Regions from separate parts of the Homo sapiens genome. Here regions 1 and 3 are each linked to region 2. The links are contacts of gene promoters, found by promoter capture Hi-C in human tissues and cell types (Jung and others, 2019). All regions are on one chromosome and are shown on one strand. The core of a region is centred on a gene start or on the middle of the fragment in contact, and the rest is flanking DNA. Distances in the headings are between cores, read along the strand shown.

Region 1 (3,848 bases), core at 898-3,397, 220 kb after region 2:
GGGGTCTCGCGGGCCTTGCGGGACACACGGGTGTGCAGCAGAGGCCTTGGGAAGGACGCCGGTGGCGGGAGGCGGAAAGGCTATGCTAGACCCACCACTTCAAAGCATAAAAAGCCTCGGAAGGATGATCTGCACCTTAACTGCCTGCCAAGCCCAACCCAACTCCTCAGAGAAAGACAACAAAATCCAGACATTCAAAAGTGTACACCTGACAATATCCAACAACCAAGAAAAACTTGTGAAAAATGTAGAGGCAGGAAAATGAGGCCAAAACCCGGAAACAAAATTAGTCAGTCGAAACAGACCCCAAAATGATGGGGAAGATGGTATGAGAAGAATCGTAGACCCTAAAACCATTATCAATTTGCTCACGAGGATGTAAAAGAAAACCCAAGTACCATGAGAAGAAATAAGGGGAAACTATTATGTTAGAAACAAAGTTAACTGGATGGGCTTCACAGCTGTTAGGCACTGCAGAAGAAATGATATCTGACAACAGAAACTACCCAAACTGTAGCTCAAGGAAAAAGGCTGGGCCGGGCACGGTGGCTCACACCTATAATCCCAGCAGTTTGAGAGGCCGAGATGGGTGGGTCACTTGAGGTCAGGAGTTCCAGACCAGCCTGGCCAACATGGCGAAACCCCGTCTCTACCAAAAATACAAAAAAAAAATTAGCCGGGTGTGGTGGTGGGCACCTGTAATCCCAGCTACTCGGGAGGCTGAGGCAGGAGAATTGCTTGAACTCGGTAGGTGGAGGTTACAGTGCGCTGAGATCGCGCCACTGCATTCCACCCTGGGTGACAGAGCGAGACTCCGTCTCAAAAAACAAAAAACAAAAAAAAAGAAAGAAAGAAAAGAAAAAAGATAAGAAAAAGAAAAAAGGCTGAAATAAAAAAAAGAACAGAGCTTCGGTGTCCTGTGAGACAACGTCAAGAGGCCTGAAATAGATGTGATTAGAGTCCTAGGAAATAAAGTGGAAAGAGGAAAAGATAGCTGAAGAAATAATGGCCAACGTTTTCCAAATTTGCTGAAAAAAACCAACCCACAGATCAAAGAAGCTTAAGAAACCCTCAGCGGGATAAAGGCAAAGAAAGCCACCTCAAAGCACATAATAATCAAATTCCCGACAGTAACACTAAAGAGAAAACCTTACAAGCAGCCTACGAGCATTGGGGTGTCACACACACAGGAACGAACGTAAGACATTCAGGGAGCCTCCAGTGACCCCCCAAAACAACGTGGGCGAGAAGACAGCGGGTCACACCTGAAAGCACTGTTGGAGGAAAGAACTAAAAACACCATCAATGCCATCAATAATTGTTTAAAACTTTAAATGCAATTTCTTCAGTATTTTTTAAAGACACATTAAAATGTATCTATTACTCACCAATAGAAAACTTAGGAATTTTAAATTGATTTGTAGGAGTAGGCATAACCTTTGTCTTGGAATTTAGACAGGAATCTCGCCGTCTGATACTTCTAGTCTTATTCAATTGAGAAGATTCTGACCAAGCGCAACTGGAGTTCAGCCACTGGCCGCCACCTTCCGGAGTCTGGGGTTGGGTGGGGGATGCTGAGGGGGGTGCCGTGAGCTGCTCCGCTGCCAGCTCAGAAACATCGACCCGCTTGGCCTGCCAGGAGGATGCCCCCACAGGGCCTGCAGGCAGAGCTGGCCGCAGCATGGCGGGTCCCATTCTGCCTGACTTGCTGATGTTTGACAGAGGCCGGGAGCTATTTGCAGGAATACTTGCAAATTCACTTGATTTAGCTAGAAGGTATACACACAAAAATCACATTATTATAAAAGTATGAAGCTATTTAACAAACACACAGAAGTTATGCTGTCTTTAGCATATCTACCTTAAACATAAGACACATTAACAATATTCTATAAGCCCTTCAGGCAACATCATCAAACACAGGATGGCTCAGGCAGCTTTTAGCTTAGCTGAGTGTATTCTAAGGTACTTATTCTCAAAATAATTACTAACATGTACATAAGCATGCATAAATTCAAGCTCTCCTATCTTCGTTGATTATGTTGGCAGGAGAAATCTACATTAGTTGAGCAGATGGAAGGGGATAGTCTAGTCACATGTCTCACCTGTCTGGTCACAGAGGTGGGCAGGGAACAAGGAAAAAAGACGCAATTGTTACTGGTTGATTCCTTTAAAATTACAAGGAGGCTGCGTCATATTAACCATAAGCACTATTTAAAATAGAAGACCAGATAAACTAGGGTAATACATACTGAGCTACCAATATACGCAGACGATCTGGTAAAGGATTCTTAAAGAAAAACTTTAGCCCAGGAGTGGTGGCTCACGCCTGTAATCCAAACACTTTGGGAGGCCAAGGCAAGAGATCACTCAAGGCCAGGAGTTCGAGACCAGCCTGGCTAATATAGTGAGACCATCCTCTCTACAAAAAACACAAAAATGTGGGCCAGGCGCAGTGGCTCGTGCCTGTAATCCTAGCACTTTGGGAGGCCAAGGCGGGCGGATCACGAGGTCAAGAGATCGAGACCATCCTAGCCAACATGGTGAAACCCCGTCACTACTAAAAATACAAAAATTAGCCGGGCGTGGTGGCAGGTGCCTGTAGTCCCAGCTACTTGGGAGGCTGAGGCAGGAGAATCACTCGAACCCGGGAGGCAGAGGTTGTAGTGAGCCAAGATTGCGCCACTGCACTCCAACCTGGCAATAGAGTGAGACTCCATCTCAAAAAAAAAAAACCCACAAAAATTAGCCGGGTGTGGTGGCATGTGCCTGTAGTCCCAGCTACTCAGGAGGCTGAGGTGGGAGGATTGCTTGATCTCAGGAGGTCATCACCTCAGTCTATAAAGATAAGGACACAAACCTCTCTTAATCACAGAATGGCAGAGTCAGAATTCCAGATCAGATCAATCTGATTAGAGAGTTCACACTTATCATTTTTTTTTTTTTTTTTGAGACGGAGTGCAGTGATGCAATCTCGGCTCATGGTAACCTCTGCCTCCCGCGTTCAAGCCATTCTCGTGGCCCAGTCTCCCGAGTAGCTGGGACTACAGGCACCCGCCACCATGCCCGGCTAGTTTTTGTGTTTTTAGTAGAGACAGGGTTTCACCATGTTGGCCAGGCTGGTCTCAAACTCCAGGGGTCAAGCGATCCACCCATCTTGGCCTGCCAAAGTGCTGGGATCACAGGCGTGAGCCCCTGCGCCCGGCCCACTTTTTACATTTTGTGAACACAATCCACACCATGCTGCCCTGAACGACCCCGAGACGCCACATGGCCAATGCACCTCGAAGAGGATTTCGCTCTGAAGAGCAGAAAGGCGAAGGCTTTCCCTTACCACTAGATGGCAGCTGTGGCTTGGCAAGGTTGAAATGTGGCTTGACCTCAAACAGGTGTGGGAGCATGGATTTAAACAGGCACCCAGGAGTTATGGGGCCATATGCCCTACATTATCTGGAATAGTCCTATTTTAAAACTGGTGTCTCATGACATGGACATGAGGGTGATTCCAGTGTCCATGTTCTCAGGCACGGGGTATCATACATGCTTTCTGGCCATGTGTACCCCGTAGACTGAAGCCACCCATCTGAGTGTGCCCTCCTCATGGGACAGAGGCACTGAGGGCAGGTACAGCAACTCAGTCCACAGCCTGGTCCACCGCACACAGCACGCCCTCCGGGACGTCCTGCCAAGCCTAAGTGGTTCTGCAGAAACAGTCTCCAAGGCCTGAGCAGCACTCCAGGCCTCACCTGGCCAGATGTGGGTCCAAGCATGATGCCGGCTGCCTCACCTTTGCCCACTGCTGGGGATGTGCACGCACTGGATGCCCCGCTCCAAACAGGCCCCGAGGA
Region 2 (3,612 bases), core at 819-3,318:
TTCATCTTTCCCCTATTTGTGCACACCTCTAAACGTTATGGTGGAGTCGGGCTTGCTGTCGGTCTAAGCGTGAATGGAATGATCTTTTGTCTTTGCTGGACATCCTGTTAGTGAGATTCATCCATCCTCCCCTGTCCCTAGGTGTTGGGCAGTCCCTGTGGTTACCTCGCAGCCTGCAGGTGCCTTATTCCAGAAAAGCAGGCCCACACCTGAACCCACTGGCTGCAGCTGAGTTTTGTTTATTTAAACCCAACCCACTCTGCTTAAAGCCTTATTGCAAAACAGGCACTCCTGGGGTTCTCTGGTTTTTCCTCCTGCCTGGGTCCCCTTCAGGTCCGCCCAGTAGCCTTCCACTGGGAGGCTCCGGGCTCAGGGACCCGCCCTGCCTTCCGGCCCCAGAACTCCTGTCCTTTCATCCTTCCCGGAAAAATCCCAGTGGAAGGGTATATGGCGGGTGGGGAGGTCCTGGACCGCTCACATTAAGGAGACGGACTTTTCTCCTTCCTCCCCTCCCTCCACACACACATTTCCCAACAGGACTCTCCAGTGGAAACCTCGAATTAAAAGGTTCCAAAGCAACTCCACCTTTTAGATCAATATAACGTGTTCAAATCCTTGCTACTGGGAAGAAAATGCTCACATTGGGCTTCAGCACAAAGACACTGTTTCAGCAGCTTTGAGCGAAGTTGGCTGAGTATGCGTGTGACACACACACAGACACATCGCTCCGGGGGAGAAACCCTTCCGGTTCTCCACAGCCGCCCACGGTCCTCGTTGAGACTGGACTCATCTCAGCTCAGCTCAGAGATTTGGCTGCAGGATCCGACCCTCCCTTGCCAAAAAGACCCGTTCTAGGGGTGACTGCGCATTACTCCCACCCCCACCGCTCCGACCGGCCCCAGGAGAAGCCCTTCTAGGAGAGAAGAGGCGACCCCCACCTACCGTCCCCGACCACTGGGAGGCCTAAGGGCTGCACTGGACTCCGGCGCCCCGAGCGCCACCAAGGGAGTGCGCGCCCTTCCCAGCCGCTGGTGGCACAGTCCCAAAGCCCCGCCCATGCGGGGGGTCGCCAAGTCCTAAGCCTCCACCCCCTTTATCCCTGTGCCCCATCCGGAGGCAGGTGTACCCGTCACGCAAACCTAAAGCTGCCCCCGGCCCCCCGTGGTTCCCCGCAGGAGGCGGGGGTGTGTGTCACTTTTCTGAAAGCTCTAAGGTCTCTGCCCCCCGCCCCCCGCTGTCCTCCGTAGGAGGCTGGGCAGGGGCTGTGGCACAGCTCTAAATCCCTGCGGGTGCTTGCTTGCCCCAGGCAGCTTCCAGGACCCGCAGCCCCCCGCCTTCCCCGCAACCCGCTTCGGGAGGAGCCGGACGCTCGGGGATTCCGCGATGCGTCCGCGAACGCTCGGGTCGGGCCGCACGCGGGAGATGAGCGCGCCTCCGCCGTCCTCTCCAAATCCCTTATGTCAACCGGGGTTTTCTTCTTTCATTTAAAAGTTGCGCTTTAAACCAAGTGGGACGCAGATCCGGTAGCTGCCTATTGGGCTTCAAAGTCCAGGGAGTTTTAGTCGGGGTGAAGCATTTTAGCCTCCGTGCGTCTTGCTGTAAAATGGGTAACCCTCCTCGACAGCCTCCGCAGTCCTTAATGGGTGGGGGGGGGCTCCCCGGCCTCTCGGCCCCAGTCCTCCGCCCCCGGGTCCTACCCGCGCGGCACTCCTGGCGGCGGTCTCCGTGGATCTGTTCTGCCGGGGTGGGGAGCCAGGCTCTGAGCCGCGGCCCCGAGCCCGAGGTGCGGAGCCACCGCCCCACGGGTAGCGGCCACCGGGGGCCCCAGCCCCACCTTTCCCGGCCCTGTTGCCTCGGCCCCGCCCCACCGGGAGGCTGGGTGGGGAGGCCTCCGGGGAGTAGGGCCCCAGTCCCCGTCCCGGCCGCGCCCTCGCGTCTCCATAGCGATCCTCTCGGCGCGCACCTCCGAGCCGGCTCCCCCCGGGGCCGAACAATACGCCGCTGGGCCGGGGGCGGGGCGGGGCCGGGCCGGGGGCGGGGAGAGCGCGGGCGGAGTGGGCGCGGGCCAAGCGCACCGCCCAGGCAGCAGCCGGCCGCCGGGGTCTGCGCGGCGCGGAGCTGCCCAGCCCGCTCCGGGAACTCAGCCCCCGCCCCGCGCCGGGCCCGCCCCGCTTCCCACGCCCGTCCGGCCGAGCCCGCGCCGGAGCCACCTGGAGCCGCCTGGAGCCGCCGCCGCCGCCGCAGGTTGATGCGCGGCGCCCTCCCGGGACGCGCGGAGGAGCCATCTTGAAACCAACTTCGCAAACTTTCGCAAAGTGCTCTCGAAGTGGAAGCTGCGGGGGAGGCCGGGCGCGTGGTCCCCACAGTCCCCGCCAGGGCCCCCGGGGAGGCGGGACGCGGACCGCCCCGAGGGCCGGGCGCCCGGGAGCCGCTCCCCGGCCTCGCCGGGTGGATGCGGAGGCGCGCCGGGTGCATGGATTGTGTTCGGGCGCCCGGCTCGGGCTCGGGCTCCGGGCCATGGCGCCGCCGCCGCCGCCCGTGCTGCCCGTGCTGCTGCTCCTGGCCGCCGCCGCCGCCCTGCCGGCGATGGGGCTGCGAGCGGCCGCCTGGGAGCCGCGCGTACCCGGCGGGACCCGCGCCTTCGCCCTCCGGCCCGGCTGTACCTACGCGGTGGGCGCCGCTTGCACGCCCCGGGCGCCGCGGGAGCTGCTGGACGTGGGCCGCGATGGGCGGCTGGCAGGACGTCGGCGCGTCTCGGGCGCGGGGCGCCCGCTGCCGCTGCAAGTCCGCTTGGTGGCCCGCAGTGCCCCGACGGCGCTGAGCCGCCGCCTGCGGGCGCGCACGCACCTTCCCGGCTGCGGAGCCCGTGCCCGGCTCTGCGGAACCGGTGCCCGGCTCTGCGGGGCGCTCTGCTTCCCCGTCCCCGGCGGCTGCGCGGCCGCGCAGCATTCGGCGCTCGCAGCTCCGACCACCTTACCCGCCTGCCGCTGCCCGCCGCGCCCCAGGCCCCGCTGTCCCGGCCGTCCCATCTGCCTGCCGCCGGGCGGCTCGGTCCGCCTGCGTCTGCTGTGCGCCCTGCGGCGCGCGGCTGGCGCCGTCCGGGTGGGACTGGCGCTGGAGGCCGCCACCGCGGGGACGCCCTCCGCGTCGCCATCCCCATCGCCGCCCCTGCCGCCGAACTTGCCCGAAGCCCGGGCGGGGCCGGCGCGACGGGCCCGGCGGGGCACGAGCGGCAGAGGGAGCCTGAAGTTTCCGATGCCCAACTACCAGGTGGCGTTGTTTGAGAACGAACCGGCGGGCACCCTCATCCTCCAGCTGCACGCGCACTACACCATCGAGGGCGAGGAGGAGCGCGTGAGCTATTACATGGAGGGGCTGTTCGACGAGCGCTCCCGGGGCTACTTCCGAATCGACTCTGCCACGGGCGCCGTGAGCACGGACAGCGTACTGGACCGCGAGACCAAGGAGACGCACGTCCTCAGGGTGAAAGCCGTGGACTACAGTACGCCGCCGCGCTCGGCCACCACCTACATCACTGTCTTGGTCAAAGACACCAACGACCACAGCCCGGTCTTCGAGCAGTCGGAGTACCGCGAGCGCGTGCGGGAGAAC
Region 3 (3,949 bases), core at 194-2,693, 250 kb before region 2:
CCCAACCCTGCGCTGCTCACCACAGACTACCAGACACAGGAAATAAACGAATCTCTGTTTGTTGAAGGCAATACTGGCAATGTTGGGAGGCCGAGGTGGGCGGATCGCTTGAGCTCAGGAGTTTAGGACCAGCCTGGGCAACATGGCGAAACCACGTCTGCACAAAAAAATACAAAAAAATTGGCTGGGCGTGGTGACATAAGCCTGTGGTCCCAGCTACTTGGGAGGCTGAGGTTGCAGTGAGCCAAGATTGCACCACTGAACTCCAACCTGGGTTACACAGTGAGACCCTGTCTCAAAAAAATAAAATAAGTGATTACAAAAAAATGGCCGGATGATCGCTTGAGCCTGGGAGGTGGAGGTTGCAGTGAGCCAAGAATGCACCACTGCACTCCAATCTGGGTTACAGAGTAAGACCCTGTCTCTAAAAAATAAAATAATATAGTGATTACAAAAAAAGTAATAAAGATATTTGGAGACAAATATTTGCACACAACTATGATAACCTCTTGGGGATAAACTCCTAGAAATGGAAAGCTTGGGACATAAAGCACACATTAAAAAGGCCACTGGTCCACACTGCTGAAGAGCCGTGGTTCATATCCCACCAGCAGTGTCAACACCACACACCACTGCTCATTCAACAAGAGAACAGTGGTCTCCGTGTCGGCTATGTGCCTCTTCATTCATTAGTAAGGTAAAACTTTTTTTTTTTATTTTGTTCATTTGTACCTCTTCTTTTTGTAAATTGTCTGCTCATACCCTTTGTCCATTTTCTAATGAGGTGCTCACCACTTTCTCACTGCTTTGTAAAAAAAAACCTTGTAAACAGAGGATTCCTTCTTAGTCGTTCTGGTGGTGTGGTCAGCAGAATAACGGCCCCCACCCAAGACGTCCACATCCTAATGCCCAGAACCTGTGACTACGTCACCTTACATGGCAAAGGGGACTTTGCAGATGCAATTAAGAATACGAATGAGGTGGGAGACCATCCTGGGCAATCCGGATGGGCACAATCTAATCATGAGTACTCAAAAGCAGAGAACCTTCCTGGCTGTGGTCAGAGCAGAAGAGACCGCGGAAGGTCACACAAATGCAACATGGCTGACTCTGTACGTGGAGAAAGGGGGCTGTATGCCAAGGAACGTGGGCGGCTTCCTGGAGCTGGAGAGAGCAGGGAAAACGCTCTCCCCTGGAGCTTCCAGAAGGAACCAGCCCCGCCAACACCTTGGTGTTAGCCCAGCGAGACCCACATCAGACTTGCAAATTCTAGAACTCTAGGATACCATGTTTGCTGTAAGCCAGTAAGTTTGTGATGATTTGCTAGAGCAGTCACAGAAAGACAATGGCGGTGGCCAATCTGTTTTCCTTGGTCTGGGAGGCTGAGCCACTCTTGTGTCCTTTCCTCGTGACTCCACTTTGGGGACGACACTTGGAAAGGCCTGACCCTTCTGAGAGTGCATAAACATTGCCGTGTGCTAGTTCAATCCTTCTAGAGGGCTCGTTCCTACCCTTAAGTTTTCAATCCACCTAGAATTTATTTTATTTTGCTATATAGTGTTTAGTAGGAAACTTTAAAAAAAAATAAAGAAGGGTTCAAATGTCATTTATTCAGTAACCTCTCCTTTCACCCACTGCTTTGAGAACATCATCTTTAACGTTAAAATATTACATTGGGTCATTTTTCAGTTTCCCACTCAGTTTCTATTCAGTATCCCATTCCTATGCCTGCAGCACAACATATTAATTATACCAAATGTTCACTTTTATATTCTAAGATTTTTCAGCAAAACTTGACAAACATTTTTTTGATACTGACTCTCGGACAGGGCACTGGGGAGGCAAAGGTAAGCACAACACATCCAAACTATTCCGGCCCTTACAGTTTACTCACAAAAGCAAAACTTCAACTGGCATTTTGACTGTTCTATGATGATTCCTACAAGAGCATGTCACAGGAGCACAGAAACCCAGTCTTATCGGGAGGCCGAGGCGGGCGGATCACGAGGTCAGGAGATCGAGACCATCCTGGATAACACAGTGAAACCCCGTCTCTATGAAAAATACAAAAAATTAGCCGGGCTTGGTGGCACGTGCCTGTAATCCCAGCTACTTGGGAAGCTGAGGCAGGAGAATGGCGTGAACCCAGGAGGCAGAGCTTGTAGTGAGCCGAGATTGCGCCACTGCACTCCAGCCTAGGCGACAGCGAGACTCTGTCTCAAAAAAAAAAAAAAAAGAAAAGAAGGAAGATTCCTTAAGAAAAAAAATCACACTTAGAACTAGGAAAAGTGGCTGGCAGAAGGTTGAGACAAACAAAACAGCACGTACCTGATCTGAAGGCCAGGAGCAGTGGAATCAGTGGGACATCAAAGTGGCAGCCAAGGGCCTGTCACCACAGCAAGCAGAAACATGAGCCCACACCCGGCCTTCCTTCAAAGGCCCAGGAGCCCAGTCCCACCCCTCACTCCACAGAGGAAGATTGGAAACCCAGAGAAGAGAAAGGAATTCAAAAGAGTCTGGCCCCTTGAAGGGTTTGTTATGACTTCTCCTTCCCAAAAAAAAGCCAATAAGGAGAAATATATGATTTCAGAAGAAAATTCTAAAGTCAGCATCCAGATGAAAACATCACATTTATTTCTGCATACATCAGAGTGAGTTTCAGTTTCAAACTGAAGATGACCTGAAAGCAAAGCGCTGATCCCTCCTCTCAACCAGGAAGGACCTACGAGGCAGGCACTGTCCTGGGTGCTGAGGACACAGACGCCCTGTGGCATGAACCACAGGCGGGTCCCAGTGGGGCTGGTGCTGGATACTTTTACCAAAGGAATGAAACACACAGAAAAGTGAAGGAACAGCCCTGTGACCACCATGCCACGTGCCACTGCTCAGCTCCAACCACTTTCAACAGCCTCCAGATTTGCTCAACATGCCGTTTCTTTTTTACTATCAATACTGCAAGCAATAAAGCATAGAGAATAATAGTAGTAGCTAACAGAGATGAGCATTATTTTAAACTCTCAATGTGTTAAGTCCTTTAATCTTTGCAACCCAATAAGGCAGATATCATTACTCTTCCCATTCAAAAGGTGGAAAAACTGAGGGACAGAAAGCTTAAGAAAGTAGCCTGCCTGGCCGGGCGTGGTGGCTCACGCCTGTAATCCCAGCACTTTGGGAGGCCGAGGCGGGTGGATCACGAGGTCTGGAGATCGAGACCGTCCTGGCTAACACAGTGAAACCCCGTCTCTACTAAAAATACAAAAAATTACCCGGTCGTGGTGGCGGACGCCTATAGTCCCAGCTACTTAGGAGGCTGAGGCAAGAGAATGGTGTGAACCCGGGAGGCAGAGCTTGCAGTGAGCCGAGATCACGCCCCTGCACTCCAACCTGGGTGACAGAGTAAGACTCCGTCCCAAAAAAAAAAAAAAAAAAAAAAGTAGCCTGCCCAAAGTCACCTACCCCTGGCAGGCTGCAGCCAGCTTAGTGACATATAGGACATAAGGAATAACCACACAGACACCACCCAGAGATTCACTTCCCCCAAATTCCAACATTTTGTCATATAATAGAGTTGAAACCCTCCCCATTCTGGTTCTCTACCTGCCTCCTCTGAGGTGGCTACCAACCTGTATTTGACATTTTCCATTTCCATGTAAGAGTTTATACTATTATGGAAGAGACGTGGATCTCTGGGCAACATACAGTATTATTCTGCACATTTGCAAAGTTTACACTGTTATCATTTCATACATATGTACCTTTGCAACTAGATGTTCCCTCAAGATTGTTCTTTATGTATCAATGTTAATGCACGCAGCTCCAGTTTTGTTCTGTGGGGTTTCACTGTATGAAAGCCAGTACTTTAGCAGTAAACCAACTTTTCAAAAGAAATGTTACATGGAAATGCCAAACAGGTAAAGGCAGAGCTACTCTGGTGAAGGGGAGACGCAGG

Evidence for each region. The method cuts DNA at HindIII sites, captures the fragments that hold promoters and counts their contacts. A contact is called where the count stands out against the background at its distance.
Region 1: a contact is called between a fragment that was not itself captured here and the fragment with the promoter of CELSR1 in region 2, in 3 of the 25 tissues and cell types used here (liver, mesendoderm cells and stomach).
Region 3: a contact is called between a fragment that was not itself captured here and the fragment with the promoter of CELSR1 in region 2, in 2 of the 25 tissues and cell types used here (small bowel and spleen).

What each region holds. Positions count from the first base shown.
Region 1 is chr22:46,313,953-46,317,800 of GRCh38, reverse strand. GTSE1 (G2 and S-phase expressed 1) reads right to left here. Exons shown (of 12, transcript NM_016426.7): 6 at 3,788-3,848; 7 at 1,389-1,769. Among named protein-coding and RNA genes, the nearest start is that of GTSE1, 19 kb to the right of the region's middle. The HindIII fragment of the contact is 7,099 bases long and covers 1-3,848 here.
Region 2 is chr22:46,536,076-46,539,687 of GRCh38, reverse strand. CELSR1 (cadherin EGF LAG seven-pass G-type receptor 1) reads left to right here and starts at 2,068. Exons shown (of 35, transcript NM_001378328.1): 1 at 2,068-3,612. The coding sequence starts at 2,518. The HindIII fragment of the contact is 25,460 bases long and covers 1-3,612 here.
Region 3 is chr22:46,787,417-46,791,365 of GRCh38, reverse strand. All of the region lies in intron 1 of TBC1D22A (TBC1 domain family member 22A), which reads right to left. Among named protein-coding and RNA genes, the nearest start is that of TBC1D22A, 27 kb to the right of the region's middle. RefSeq lists an enhancer at 2,885-2,984. The HindIII fragment of the contact is 6,608 bases long and covers 1-3,949 here.